Linked DNA regions of Homo sapiens: region 2 is linked to region 1. Evidence: promoter capture Hi-C in 16 types of primary human blood cells and fetal thymus (Javierre and others, 2016). All regions are on one chromosome and are shown on one strand. The core of a region is centred on a gene start or on the middle of the fragment in contact, and the rest is flanking DNA. Distances in the headings are between cores, read along the strand shown.

Evidence for each region. Contacts are between HindIII fragments. The CHiCAGO score rates a contact against its expected background, and 5 or more counts as called.
Region 2: a contact is called between a fragment that was not itself captured here and the fragment with the promoter of MIR1915HG in region 1, in 1 of 17 cell types (total B cells). The highest score is 6.0, in total B cells.

The regions. Positions count from the first base shown.
Region 1 is chr10:21,491,614-21,499,159 of GRCh38, reverse strand. It overlaps MIR1915HG (MIR1915 host gene), which reads left to right and starts at 1,900. Exons shown (of 2, transcript NR_160800.1): 1 at 1,900-2,410; 2 at 3,215-6,502. It overlaps MIR1915 (microRNA 1915), which reads left to right and starts at 2,519; the gene lies at 2,519-2,598. RefSeq lists silencers at 2,420-2,669, 2,880-2,929, 2,980-3,419, 4,233-4,332 and an enhancer at 3,844-4,637. The HindIII fragment of the contact is 8,649 bases long and covers 1-6,844 here.
Region 2 is chr10:22,558,139-22,565,104 of GRCh38, reverse strand. All of the region lies in intron 6 of PIP4K2A (phosphatidylinositol-5-phosphate 4-kinase type 2 alpha), which reads left to right. It also overlaps the pseudogene TRP-GGG1-1. Among named protein-coding and RNA genes, the nearest start is that of LINC03027, 120 kb to the right of the region's middle. The HindIII fragment of the contact is 206 bases long and covers 5,322-5,527 here.

The DNA.
Region 1 (7,546 bases), core at 651-3,150:
CTTCATGACCCCAGAGAATAGGACTCATTACGGTGAATACACCAAAACATCAACCAAGATTAGAACTCTAGATGCTGTTTTAATCCCATTCCAGTCCAAATTATAGTGGGAAAATATAAAATCCAAGTGCAGAGAATCACTCCGTTATATATTGACCTAAAGTTTTAATTGTACTAAGGGGGAAATAAAAGTGGAAACCCTCTATACTTTCCAGAATTTTAGATAGAGCACTGACAGGGAAAATGCATGGATTTGGTAGCGGAGGTACTAAGAATATTTGTGTGGTATACAACATGTCATACTTGGGAGACACTTTATTGGAAAAATAAGTAGAGAGTTTTTTGTATGTATGAGAAAAATATCATAACCATTTCCACTTAAAAAGTGAAGATCATTCTGATGCCCCAAAATAACTGAGGCTAAGAAATAATTAGATACCTTAAAGCTACAGTCTAAATTTCCATGACTGTTTGGAAGACTTCTCTCCAACGCGGGAGGGGAATTTGTTTTTTAATGTCAAAGGTTGTGTTAGCATGTACATTTAACCCAGGAAATTGTGAGAACTCTCTTCAACTCAAGTTGGAAAAAGGGAATGTGTTTGAGCAAAGTCTATTTTTAACAACAGAAAAGTGTGAGTTAAAGTGGACTGTGTGTTAGGTTGGGAATATAATCCATGGCAACTTCACTATACAAGTATTTTTGATTCTTCAGTGGAACTCATCCTCAAATTTTAGTAACTTGAAAAATTGAAGTCTTAAGTATTGTGTATTAAACTGAACCAAGAGATCACAGAAAGACAAAGCTATGGTAAAAGATGTTATAGTTATATTCTCATAGATTTAGTAGGAAAATCACAGCAAAGGAAATGCACCAGGAAGATATGAAATAGAGGAAATATGTTACAAATAATGAAATAGAAGGAGTTGCTGCACAATATAGCTTCACAATCTTATATTTTGAGGGGTAGGTTTTAATGAGAAGCCTCTGCATTGCATGGGAACTGGGAGTCGTAAGAATTATTTATGCAGTAAGAAGGAAAAAAATTAATTATTAGGAGCTCAATAATCACCAAATAAACTCTGAGCTTGGAGGTTAAAAATAGACGGCTATCTTCATGTTCAATTATACAGTATCAATTACTAATACAACTGATGTTTCAGTGTCTCAGCGAGAACAGATACCATCTTCTATGGAGATATCTTGGTATTAATTAATGACTGCTTTATTCTCATTATTCACAAGGAAAAATAGGGGTCGTGTCACATTAAAATTAAGATTATCTTAGTTTATCTGGGCTCTTAAACAAAGATCATTCAAAGTAATTATACTTTGAATTAATCGAGGTAGGCAATTTATCTCGTTATTTTTTTTTGTTCAAAGACAGGAAAATAAAGATCAGAAATAAGCAAAGTTTCATTTTGAAGATAGAAAGAACCAAACAAACATGTCTTGACTTTTGCAGTATTTCCCTTGCTAAAGGGGGAATGAGGGAACTGTAAAAGACGTGACTTTGCAAAGTCAAGTCCTTTTTAAAAGACTCGGATCGAAATTCTTGCTATGCAACAAGGATTCAAGTTTGATTAATTTTCTGCAAGCGACGTGACAGCGGTGTTTTAAAAGATTAATTAAAATTGAAGTGATACGGAGCAGGAATTCAACCTGCAGAGGCGTCCCTGGCGCCTTGGGGGGCTTTGTAAGCGAGTCCCAAGCCCGAACTGCGGGCTTTCCCGAGCCTGGGACGCAACTCCCCGTCTCCTGGAGAGGAACGCGGAATTTGGCAGGGCGCCCGCCTGGCCGCCTGGCATCCTGAGCTGGCCGCCAGCTCTCGGGGGGTGGGGACTGGGTGTGTCCTGGGGAACCCGCTGCCGAGAGAGCAGCTAGCGCAGCTCGCGACGAGCCATTGAGGACCAGGGTCGCGCCGAGAGGCCGGAGGGGGCTCCAGGCAGCCTGGAGCTGACGGCGCCGGGCTGCGTCCTCTTCACCTGGGGGTGGGGGGTGGGGGCACGTACTTTGTGACCAGGATGGTGCCGAGCCCCCTCTACGGCGGGAGCTTGCAGGGGTGCGGGGGTGTGACTGGCGCTCCGCGGACTCGTGTCCACAGTACAGAGGACATGTAGGGTTCGGCCGGGGCGCGGCTGCACCGGGGCCTGCCTCGCGGACCTGGACTCGGGACTCCGGGCGGCCCTGCCTGGTGCCATTGCCTCAGCCAAGTCTCCCACCTCTCTGCTCGGTTTCCCGCCCCACCTTTCCCCTACTACCGCATCCCTGTCCCCTCGCTTCCCTCCGCGATGTCTCCATCCGAGTAAGAAACGAAGCTGAACGCATTGGTAACTGTGCTCAAGAAGATGCAATCGCGGGAGCCCTCAGGGTGGCGCACGGCGGAGAGGCGACGCGGGTGGCGCTGCAGAGGGTACGGTGGGGGGCGGGGAAGAGGGGGGCGTTCGTGTGCAATTAGCCTCCCCAGGGCGCGGACCACGGTGTCCCCTTCTCTCCAGCTGGGGGTCTCGGGTCCTGGCGCTGAGAGGCCGCACCTTGCCTTGCTGCCCGGGCCGTGCACCCGTGGGCCCCAGGGCGACGCGGCGGGGGCGGCCCTAGCGACCTGCGGCGGCGCCGGGAAAGCCCTGCCTCTGCAGCGGGTCCCAGGGGTCGGGGCCTGGAAGGGTCCCTGGGAATGCTCCGCGCCGAGAAGGCTCTGTGGTTTCTCCTCCCCCACACGTCTCCCTCTCCTCCCCTCTTCCCGGGGACCTCAGAGGTGGCGGGGAAGTGGGAAGGGAGGCGGGCTTGCAGACCGTGCAGGCTGGGGAGCCGGAGCTCGGGAGTTGGGGGAGTCCGAGTGAGAACGGAAGCGCGTGGACGCGATGGAAGGGGCCGGGGGAAAGGGGGACGGCACTGGGGAGGGCTGGGGTGCGGGGCAGGCGACAGTCCCTTCCCCTCCGAGCGGCGCGGGGGACCTCTTCCCCGGGGAACCCCCACCCAGCCGTTCCCAACCTCGAGAACAAAGGGTCTGGGAAGCACGGTCGGGGTCGGGGAGCGGAGGTGGAGGGAGGCAGGAAGGCAGGCGGTGGGGGCAGGGGAGGGCGCCTCCCCACGTTTCCTCTCGCGGCCGAATGATGGAAAGCTCCCTCCAGCAAACGCCTCACTGAGGCCGCTTCTGAATCCGGGAGGGTTCGGGTTCGTTACCTAACGGCTGCACTTCGCTCCCTTCCTCCCCCAGCGTCCCCACCCCCTCCGGGGACCGGGGCCCCGGAGCTGCCAGGCCCGCTGCACGCGGCGGCGCGGGAGAAACCACGGGGCAGCAGCGCCCCCTGCAGGTGCCGGGCGCCTCCGCAGCCGCTGCGCGGACCCGACTCTTAAGGTGGCACCACCGGGTTCCCAGCCCGCGCGCAACCCGCAGCCCTGGCTCCATCCGCCGCACTTCTCCCTGTAGCGGCGGGCCTGACCGTCCGGAACGGCCGGAGTGTGCTGATGCCTGCTGCTATCTGCTTGATCCCTTCACCCTACCTCTCATCCAGGACTTCTTCCGCGGATGCGCAGCTAGCGATTTCGACAGGCGAGATTGAAAATTCCGGGCGAGTATATGAGGTTGAGTAAGTCCCGCTTCAGGGAGGAACGACCAGAATGACATTTCTTTAAGCCTAAATCAAACTTTTATTTTCGTTTATAAAAAGCAGAAGGCCAGCAGGAAAGGGTCGCGGAGGACTGGCACATCCACAACCGTAGGACTCTTGGATCCAAGTTTTTAGGCTGAGACTGGGCGGTCCGGGGTTCTCCTTCGGCGCTCACACCCCGCAAACTCGTGGGCAGTGCAGTGCTGGAGGCCGGGGGCAGTGGCGGACCCGCAGGGTAACCTTGTCTCGCGCACCTCCCGAGCCCCCAGCAGCCCACTCTCGTCCGAATGCTTTGTTTATTTGGTGACACCAGGGAACGTGGAGAAGAAGATCGAAGTTCAGTTTTTCTTTTTTCTTTATTTTAAATATTTTTCTTAACTAAATGGTATGTTTATGTGAACCCATCATCTCTTGGAATTAAGTGTCCTCAGCGAACTCCAGATTCCTAGGGGAAACCTACGTGCCCAGAGCAGGAAACGCACAAGTCAATTCAGGTTCCGGTGCCATCCGCAGTAAATTCCCTTCCTTTTGCTCCAAATTCCTCCTCTGCGTCCAGGAGAGGGACCCCCGGGACTCCCGCACACCCAGGACCGGGAGCGGCAGAGCAGAGGGCGGGTGCGAGGGCGCGAGGGAAGGGAGGCGGCCTGCGGACCTGGGGCGCGCAGTTTCCCGGCTCCGTGGGAACCTCCAACCCCGGGGCGCGCGGCCTAGGCTCCGCCCTGCCAGGCTTGGGGCCGAGCGGCCCACCTAGTGGGTCCTGACCTGGGGAAGCCGAGTCCGCGCGCGGGTCGGGCCGCGACGAGGGAAGCTCGCCTGGGCAAGTGCCGCGCGGGGTCAGACCCACCCCAGGGGTTGCAAACCGCAAGCGAAAGTCGAGAGGGGCTGGAGCTTTCCCTCTGATCCGTTTTACACTGTGAAAACCGCAGGCCTGTCGCCTAGGCGGCCACTTTTAAATTGGGAAGCAAATAGACGAAAAACCAAAACAAACGTACGAGCTGACTTTTCCCAGCTAAGTTTCCCCTCAATAAAAAGCCCGCTTTCTGGGAAAGACAGAAACTGATCCGCGCTCACGATTGCTTTCTTGGAGATTCTGGGGGCACTGGGGCGCGCAGGAGGCGCGGCGACAACCCCAGCGCGCATGGGGCAGCCTGGACTGTGCCCCTCTTACCAAGCTCCTTCCCAGGCTTCTCCGTGCTTCTCTCTCCACTGGGGTCCCGCCTCTCCACGGGTCACGCCGAGGCTATATGCTGCTTGCAAGGGGTCCGCGCTTTCTCGTTCGGCGGGAAAGGCACATGTTGGAGCTCGATGTTGGGGCTCAGGGTGTGGTTGATTTGTCTGCTGATCTGGGTTTCTTCCCAGCACCGGGCAGGAAGTGTAGGAGTTTGGGTCGCCAGTCCAGGGACTCGGGAAACTTCCAGGCCAACCAGAAGAAACACTTGCAGACACCTTTCGAATGTCACAGTTTTCCCCAGGGGAAAAAGCAGAAGTTGCTGGGCACATCACCCAGCACCCGGGCAAACTCTCCACTTACCTCGCGCCCTGCTAGGGGGTGTTGGGGGCCCTCCGGGAACCCCTAGATGAGCAAGCAAAGTTGCAAGAAGTGGGGTGGGGAACGCTCACCCGATAAACCATGCACCAAACTTAATCAGCCTGTAATGCTTACTCTAAATCTAGGCCCATCTAGGCCAGGTGGGCTGAGTCTTGGGATAGTGGGTGTCTCCTTCCTATGTTGATACATTAAGGATTCCATATGGACAATTATTTTTAGTCAAATTTGTGGTCCTGGAGATAGAAAGAGGAGAAGAAGAGAGAAGAAAGACAGAAGAGCTTTATTGTTCTTTTTTTTTTTTTTTTTTTTTTGAGATGGAGTCTCGCCCTGTTGTCCAGGCTGGAGTACAGTGGCGCCATCTTGGCTAACTGCAACCTCCACCTCCCCGGTTCAAGCAATTCTCCTACCTCAGCCTCCTGAGTAGCTGGGACTACAGGCAGCCGCCACCATGACCAGCTAATTTTTTTTTTTACTTTTAGTAGAGATGGGGTTTCACCATGTTAGCCAGGATGGTCTCGAACTCCTGACCTTGTGATCCGCCCACCTCAGCCTCCCTAGGTGCTGGGATTACAGGCGTGAGCAACCACCCGGCCTTATTGTTCTTATATTAAAACAAAAGAACCTAGAAAAAATTGCTTGGTTAAATTGTAGAGAGGAAGGGAGGGAAGGAAAATGAAGGCTTTTCTTCTTTGTTCTTTAAAAGTCCAAGCACTTTCTTTCAGAATCAAAATGTAGAGAGGCAGTCAGTCTTGGAGCATGCTTTTGCATTTTAGGATACTACTCATTAATTCAGTTTTAAAGCATTCACTGGGTTGAGCACAATTTTAAAAAGGTTCTGACTCACCCAGATCCTGTTTGAAGCTCAACTCATTTTGATTGAAAGAGATTTGAGACAAGAATTTCAGAAGAGAAAAATGTGTGTTACACCTGGACATATATACACATGTAACAGGGATTGTATTCCTTCTAGTCTAAGACAAGAGATTCTATGGTAAATTATTTAAAAAAATTAGTTTTTTTTCTAGCATTGTATTGTCACCAGAAAGAAGAGTGCTGAATTCTCTGTTTCTGCATTTCCCAATAATAAATCTCCTAGGAGAGATAACTTTTTGCAGTTGTGCCCCCCACCCATTTTCTCTGTGGCTTGCTTTATTTCCCACATATGAATACACACACAGCAGATACATCATGCACAAACTTTTTTTAATGTGTAATCTGTAAATCTAGGCCCATTAAGTTTTCATTGAAGTTGGGAAACTGTTGAGGACTTACTTTTGTTCTTCACCATGCGTGCACTTTGCCAAGGATCTTTGGTAACCAATAAAACGATCATGTTCACTCTGAATGTATTTCTTTGTGATTAAATGGAAAAGAGTATTCATGAACTGCTTAAACAGTATTTTTATACCAAAACATCAACGCATAATGAAAAATGAGCTATAGTTGTTCCAAATGTTCAGAATAGCAGCTTTGCATTTACAGTCATATTTTGGCAAAACTATTTCATATTAATTGAAAATGATACAACAGTGCATGCATTCTGTGGAGGGATGCTTATTCACTTAGCTGCACCATGAAAAATTTAAACTATCTGGTTCGAATGACCTGCAATGCCTACTGAAGGAAGGGTTGGAAAATTAGGAACTATGAAATTATTTGTGTGTTTTTTTGGCCTTTTCATGAAGCTTGAATTAAATCTAGTTTTTGTGAAAAATAAAACTAAAGCAATATAAGAATCCCTTAAGTTGGTCTTATAAAATCATATGGTTTTTTTTTTTTTTTTGAGATGGAATTTCACTCTGTCACCCAGGCTGGAGTGCAGTGGCACAATCTTGGCTCACTGCAACCTCTGCCTCCTGGGTTCAAGGGATTCTTCTGCCTCAGCTTCCTGAGTAGCTGGGACTACAGGCACTCGCCACCACACCCGGCTAATTTTTTTGTGTTTTTAGTAGAGACGGGTTTTCACCATATTGGCCAGGCTGGTCTTGAATTCCTGATCTCGTGATCCACCCGCCTCGGCTTCCCAAAGTGCTAGGATTACAGGCATGCGCCACCGCGCCCAGCCATATGTGATTATTATAAAAAATCTGTACCTTAAAGATATGTTAGTGAAACTAGATGGATACAAATATAACTATTACCTTTTTTTTTCCCAGTGATTTTTCTCTCTCAAATGTAAGATATGTAGGACTCCAGAACATGCACTGTAATTTGTTCTGATAATAGGAAAACCAATGCTGGTTTTCTCAGTGTCATAGTTATCAAGGGGCAATGCCAAAATCATTAGATAAGCATCATCCTTTCTATCACATCATTGTCTACATGAAATTTCATCTTAGAAAATATGCAAGAATATTATATTTGTTTCCAAAGCTTGAAAATGCAATAG
Region 2 (6,966 bases), core at 4,175-6,674, 1.1 Mb before region 1:
CATCACCTTTTACAGGAGCCAGGAGACACTGGGTCACTCACTCAGATATTGATTGTCTGTGATGAGTACACACTCTGCCAAGCATTGTAAGAACTGCTTCGTGGAACTAGGCTGATACAGTCCCCATCCTCATGAAACTTTCACTCTAGTAATTTTCCATGAACCAGAGGAAATGAACTTCCCAGCGTCAGATGCTTTCGTGAGGCCAGGTAGGGTAAGAATGGAGAGTTGTCCAGGGACATATCCACAGGGAAATCGCTGGGGACCTGGTCGGTGAGGGCGAGTGGGGACCAAAGCCAGATTGCAGCAGGTAAGGAGGAGAGAAGAAAATGGTGGAGGCTTCTTTGGCCATTTGCCCTTTTACTGTACATCAGTGAATGTACATTTTGAGAATTCAACCTTCGCCTAAACCCCCTCTAAGGCACTGGCTTTGGCCAGAAGAGGCAGAAACAGTGACTGTCGACTTCCATGCTGCCATGAGTGAATGTTTCTTCCAGGTACTGAAGACTCAGCAGGTATTTCAGTTTTAGCCCATGAGAAGCTCAGAGGCTAAATTTTGTTGAGATTTTCTCCTCAGAGGAAATGCCAGGGTGTGTACAGAGTCACACATGCTCTTCAGCATCGTACGACAGGCCAGCCCCTGAGTCACATGATGCCCCATGTTGGTGGGTCTGTTTTTACTTTCTTCCAAAGTTCCTTGGGACTACCACTAGCAGGATTTTTTTCCTTCATTCATTTTGATTTCTTCAGGTTCAGTCAACAAGTGCTTGGTCCTGCTCTGACAGTAAACACTGCCAACAAGGACAGTTACAGCTAATGGCGTGGTTGCTGCTGAGGCCTAAATCATAAAACAAGGGCACACAGAGAGGAAAGCCACACGTATTTGACTTCCTGTATCTGTAACGGTTCCTGCAAAGCAGGACATTCACTTACCTATCTTCCGTTCCGCTGTTGCACCTATAGGACTTAACACACTTTCCAGAAACCCAGGGCATGAACCACAGTTCACTGCCCTCCTCACCAAAAAGTGTTTAGTCCCTTTATTGGTATAGCTTCCTATGAAAAGAGAATAATAGAATTTGTTTGACCGAGAACTCATCTTTCTAGGACTCTGCTAGGATGCTTTTATCCTGTATCTAATATGAACACGTAGCCATCATTCCTTCAAACATCTCCCTAGGGGGTAGGCTTAGAGGAAGTCACAACTGGCACTGGTTGAGTACAAACTATATGCCAGACCGTTTTAAATTGTACATGAATTATGTCATGTAATCCTTAACAGTCACCAGATGAGATTGGTGCTGTCGTTACTTACTTTGAGTGGATGAAGTTGCTTAACTGACAGGTTTAGTAACTTCATCCAGGGTCCTACAGTTAGGAAGTGACAGCGCCAGGGTTTGAGCCTGGGATCAGCAGCCCCAGAGCGCACATTTCTAACCACTATGCCACACTGCCTTGTAAATGTTTGTGAGTTCATGTCTCTCCTTTCCTTTAAGGGCATATTATCAAAAAGTCATGTTAATCCCATTGTGAAAATGAGGAAAAAGTTAACTACATTGACAAAAACATTGTTTCAGAGTTAAATATGGTGCTGAAACAGTTGATTCTAAAACTTGATTTTTTTTCTAAAGTAGTGAAATAAATTATTTGTTTCCATACTATGTTAGCAAAACAATTTGTATTTCCTCTATTTGAAGAGCTTGAGCATTTTCGCTCATACTTTCAGATGTACATATTTGTAAAACTTTTACGTTTAATGCAGTCTTTATCACGTGTCTTACACTGTGCAAACATTAGAATTGTCTGCACAGTTGCCCTGAGGAAGAATTCAGTGCCCTAGCCTTCTTTTTGTGGTTGAGGTTTCTAATAACTCTTATTCCAGAAGACAGAGGCTGCATAAAGCTACCCCACCCACCCTTCTATATTAAAAATGCTCACTTGGGAAGGGGAAAAGGAAATAGCTTGAAGATGTGGAATGTCAAAGTCATAGAAATTGGTAAATGATGGAGAGTGTGCCTGCCTTGACAGTAGGGTAGAGATCAAAATGTACCTTCATTCATGCACAGTAAAAGGGCAAATGGCCAAAGAAACATCCACCATTTCCTTTTCTCCTCCTCACTTCATCACCTGCTGCAATCTGGCTCCCACCCACCGTCACCGACCACGTCCCCAGCGATTTCCCTGGGGATACATCACCCAGACTAGAGAGAGAGGAGGCATTTGAAATGTCAGGGTGGCGTCAGAACAGAGATATCCAATAGGCATGAGAGGGTGCACAGGGTGTCTTAGCTGAAAACAAAGGGCTTGGGAATCCTCCCTGGAAGGACGGTCAGCAGAGACAGGGAAGTGGGTGAGGTCACCCAGGAGGAGCGTGTCGAGAAGAGAAGCACGTCTAGAACGAACCCAGGGGAAAGTCGTCATTCACGGCTCGGTAGAGATCATGCCATGCCTTCTCTCTCTGATACAGCAGTGTTTTGTAGACTCTAGAAACGTTTGTTAAACTGTAATAGATGAAATGAAATGTATTAATAGAGCCAAACTGTTTTGTTTTTTTTCGAGACGGAGTCTCGCTCTGTCACCCAGGCTGGAGTGCAGTGGTGCAATCTCAGCTCACTGCAAGCTCCGCCTCCTGGGTTCATGCCATTCTCCTGCCTCAGCCTCCCTAGTAGCTGGGACTACAAGCGCCTGTCACTACGCTTGGCTAATTTTTTTGTATTTTTAGTAGAGACGGAGTTTCACCGTGTTAGCCAGGATGGTCTCGATCCCCTGACCTCGTGATCCACCCGCCTCGGCCTCCCAAAGTGCTGGGATTACAGGCATTAGCCACCGCGCCCGGCCAAGCCGAACTCTTAAAAACATTGTTTGTTTGTTTTTTTAACTTTTAAAAAAAGTCTTTGCTTTCCCTTTTCTGCCATCCTTTGGGTTTTCTTTCCATGATCAGTTAGGATTTTTGACTCTTCCAAAAAGCCTACCATTCATTGTGTTCACAAATCATAAATACTCCTTTTTATGATCAGACATCGGGGGGGAAAATGCTATCAAAACAGTCTACTAAATGCTATCAAAACAATCTACTGGTACCTCTGGTTTGAAATATTTGGGGAAGGCTAAAAACACTTACTACATTTTAGCCTTTTATAAATGAAATGATTTGCAAGAATATTATATTCATTGCTATTATATATAACTATATTCCTTTCCAAATGATCGTTATGGTACAAAGAACAATCTTTCTAGAGGGCTGGGCATGGTGGCTCACGCCTGTAATCCCAGCACTTTAGGGAGGCTGAGGCTACAGGATAGCCTGAGCTCGGGAGTTCAAGACCACCCTGGGAAACATAGCGAGACCCCCAACTCTACAAACAATTCAAAAAATTAGCTGGGCATGGTGGTGCACACTTGTGGCCCCAGCTACATGGGAGGATTGCTTGAACTCAGGATGTCGATGCTGCAGTGAGCCGTGATCACACCACTGCATTCCAGCCTCAGTGACAGAACAAGACCCTGTCTCAGAAAAAAAAAAAAAAAAAAAAAAAAAACTGCGTAGAGAATCTCTGGTGACATAGTTTAATTAGTAATCTCAATTCTTATTCTTCCCAGGTTTTCTTTCATATGAGTCATTATAACTTCTAGTTTTCCATACTTTTAACTTGTTGATGACAAGTTTGAAACTGTCATTTCAAATATTTAGCGTTATAGGTGCAGACAAGTCCCATTTCTTAGATTGTAGCTTGACATGTAATTAGTGTGATTTGCATTAGCATAATCATGAAGATGGAACTGAAGGAAATAAGTTATATTCTAACAATGGAATCACTTTCATGGCAACAAGTCTCAGAACATGCATGTACAGATGTCTTGAGGTTTTTTTTAAGAGCAGAACAGTGCTTTAAAAAAAAATAACCATTGTCAAATTCTGACAGCTGCTATGACTTGTTTTATTCTTTAATTCTTTCCTTTTTAATGGAAGGGCATCTCCCATTCATGGCTCCAGCAGTTTCGCCTCCTCTAAATGAGACAGAGAAATGTGAACCTCCCTGGTGGTCGATCTTTTCACAGCTGCGCTGCAATTCCAGTGTGACATCAAATTAGTAATTATAGCTGAGCGGGCTGCTTTTTACAAATGACAGTCTTAGCATGCTGCCTGCTAGCGAGCGACTCAGCAGGGGACCTGGGGAAGTAAAAGAAAACATAACTGGACTCACTTGATTTCTGGGGGATTTGACCTGACTCTTTAAAAAGCCCATGTTCTTGAGAGAGAGAGTCCTGGGGATTTACACAAATATGCATTTTGTTCATCATCCTGCACAGTTCTTCTCAAAACTCATGTCTGATTTTATTAGGTAAAGTAAAGTATGTGTAATGGAGCCATAGGGTCACAATAAGAAGATCCCTTTTAACATACAGCCTTCTTCCTGAAACCCATTTGAAAGAAAACAGCTGCCCTGCAATTGGCATTTGTGTAACTGTATTGGCAATAATCATTGTTGACACTTTGATAATGGGCTACAAAAAGCCGCCTTGTCGATTCTCAGGCACTGTGAATTGCACCAGCAATTAAGTGACTGTCACCGTCTCCGACGTTTTACCTATTACCAACTGAGGGTTCGAGAGGATTAATCATTAATACCCTTACGTCTAAAAATGCTTTTCGAAACCAGTTTTCAGCATTTCTTTTGTGGTCTTTAAATTGTAACAAATTATAATTAATTACTACCCCTATCTGGTCATCTGGGCTGCCATTGAAGTGAGGTGGCCAGGGCGGCGGGCTCCCCAAACGTGACACAAAAGCACAGCAGCGTATCCTTCTGGAAATCTTTATTTGCCGCTCAGCTAAGAAGTGCCTCTTTTTCCACTGTGGGCGGATCATCGGTTAAAGGGGGGTTGTCAAGCTTTTTAGGCCCTCAATTCAGCTAATGCTTTAACCGCCTTCTGTAAAATTCCTTTTCTTCCGAGATAGAAGGGAATCATTTCCCTTTGCCAGCCAGTGTTAGTTAGGGACACCAATCCTACTACCCAAAGTGCAGGGGAAAGTTTCCCACTAGGGCAGAAGCAGGGCTTCTTTCTCAGACCTTAAAGGTGGCACCAGTAACATCTACCTTCTGGACCAGAGACATTTTATAAAAGGGAGATTTGGGTGAAGGACTCCAAACAGAGGGTTAGGGGATCTGAGTCCCAGCCCTGGGGGCACAGGGCTGCATTAATGGGGTTTGAGTATAGGTCATCTGACTTTGTCCTCGTTTGTAAAATTAAAGGATTTGCTTGCGTCATTGCTCCTCATGCTGTAGTGTTGGTGAGAATCTCTTGTTTCAAATGAAGCTTTCCTGGACCTTCCTCCAGAGATGTGGTTCAGCAGTCGGCCCCACTTGGAGAAGTCCTGGCCTGACCATCACTAAAATCTTCTCTATTCCAGATATAGATTAAGGTGATTGCTATGATTGATGGGGAAAAAAATGTTCTGTTCAGCAAATATAGATAAGAACCCCATAAACCATGAGGGGTATTCTGGAAATGAAGTTTTAAAGCTTCATTTAGAATATCTCGTAACTGGTAAGCATGGCACGTGACAAAAAGAGAGGATCACATGCAGTGACTCTTGTGAGCACTTTCCAGATTTTCACTCAGATGACAGCATTAAAATCCTCAAGGCTTTATGACTTATGGCTTATGGTGCTTCATCAGCTCTCATTTGCCTCAGATTAATTTTTATCTCACTGGAATGAAATCAACTCAGAGTATCCCAAGCACACGTGGAGCACTGCTGTTAGGTATGGGAATGTTTTCACGCTAACAACTCGTAGTTGGTTCTAGAAAAAGTTGGGGTGGAGAGAAGACTTCCAAAATTCAGTATGTGGTCTGAATTTAAACCAAGCTGCTACAGATGTGTAATTCTTAATTAAATAATGATCTTTAACATGGTAGTATTAAACCAGAGATCTAGAGGAGTTAGCAAACTCCTTGAGTGTTCAGCCTTTGACATTTCTTAGATTATCACCATAGATATCTGCGCACCAGAATCTTCTGTTACGACTGGAACGAAGCCATCCCGTAGGTCCTATTTTGTAGGTCTTGTATGCAGTTCAGCTGTCATATCCCAGTTTGTGGAGGAAGACCAAACCGTCACCTTTGACATTACCACATAGAGTTGTCATAAAATATGACAGTATTAAAAAAGGAATAAATTTTACTTTTTACGTATTAGCTTGAGGGAAAATTGCCAACAGCTAGGTCTTGCCAGCCCTAACAGTTATAACTTAACGCTTCTCCAGTTTTGCGCGGCTTACTTACAGCACTGTTTCACAAGTATGTTGAGGTATATTCTCTTTCCACATTCATACATAAACAGATTCAAAATAAAAATTATAAGATGTTCACATCTGGATGCTAGTCACAGATGTGCACATTCTCACTGTTTTCACTGTGAAAATTAGAAGTTATTAATGACCTCTTAGATCATTTCTCAAACCATGAACTTGTATAGACATTCTGCTTATGTAGTTAAAGGAGGTTGGCATATGTACTATTTGTGCAAAACCACCCTTTTTCTTTGCTACTTCTGTATGAACTTTATCCGTATCCACTAATTTGCCTTTTGATGTATCAAATTTGTGGCTTAGATGTTCCAAGAAGCAGAACTGATTTTATTATAAATCTCCAGCATCTCTTATTACCCCAGAATTGATACCAAATATGTTACTCCATCAAATTATTTTTATCCTAGCTCCAACATAAGGATTACCTAAAATTCCTTCCCTTATAGAAATACTTGTGAATTATGTTTTCAGTTCCATAGATGCTGATTTTTATGAAGATTTTTGCAAGCACGGCAAAAGGGGTTTTATTCTTTTTTGCAAGTTTATTTTCATTTGGGTGAGCTTGGAATTACAAGTAAATCAGGAACACAAGCAGTTCTAACATAAAACAATAATTACTACGTATTTTTTATGTGGAGCATTCAGCTCTGAG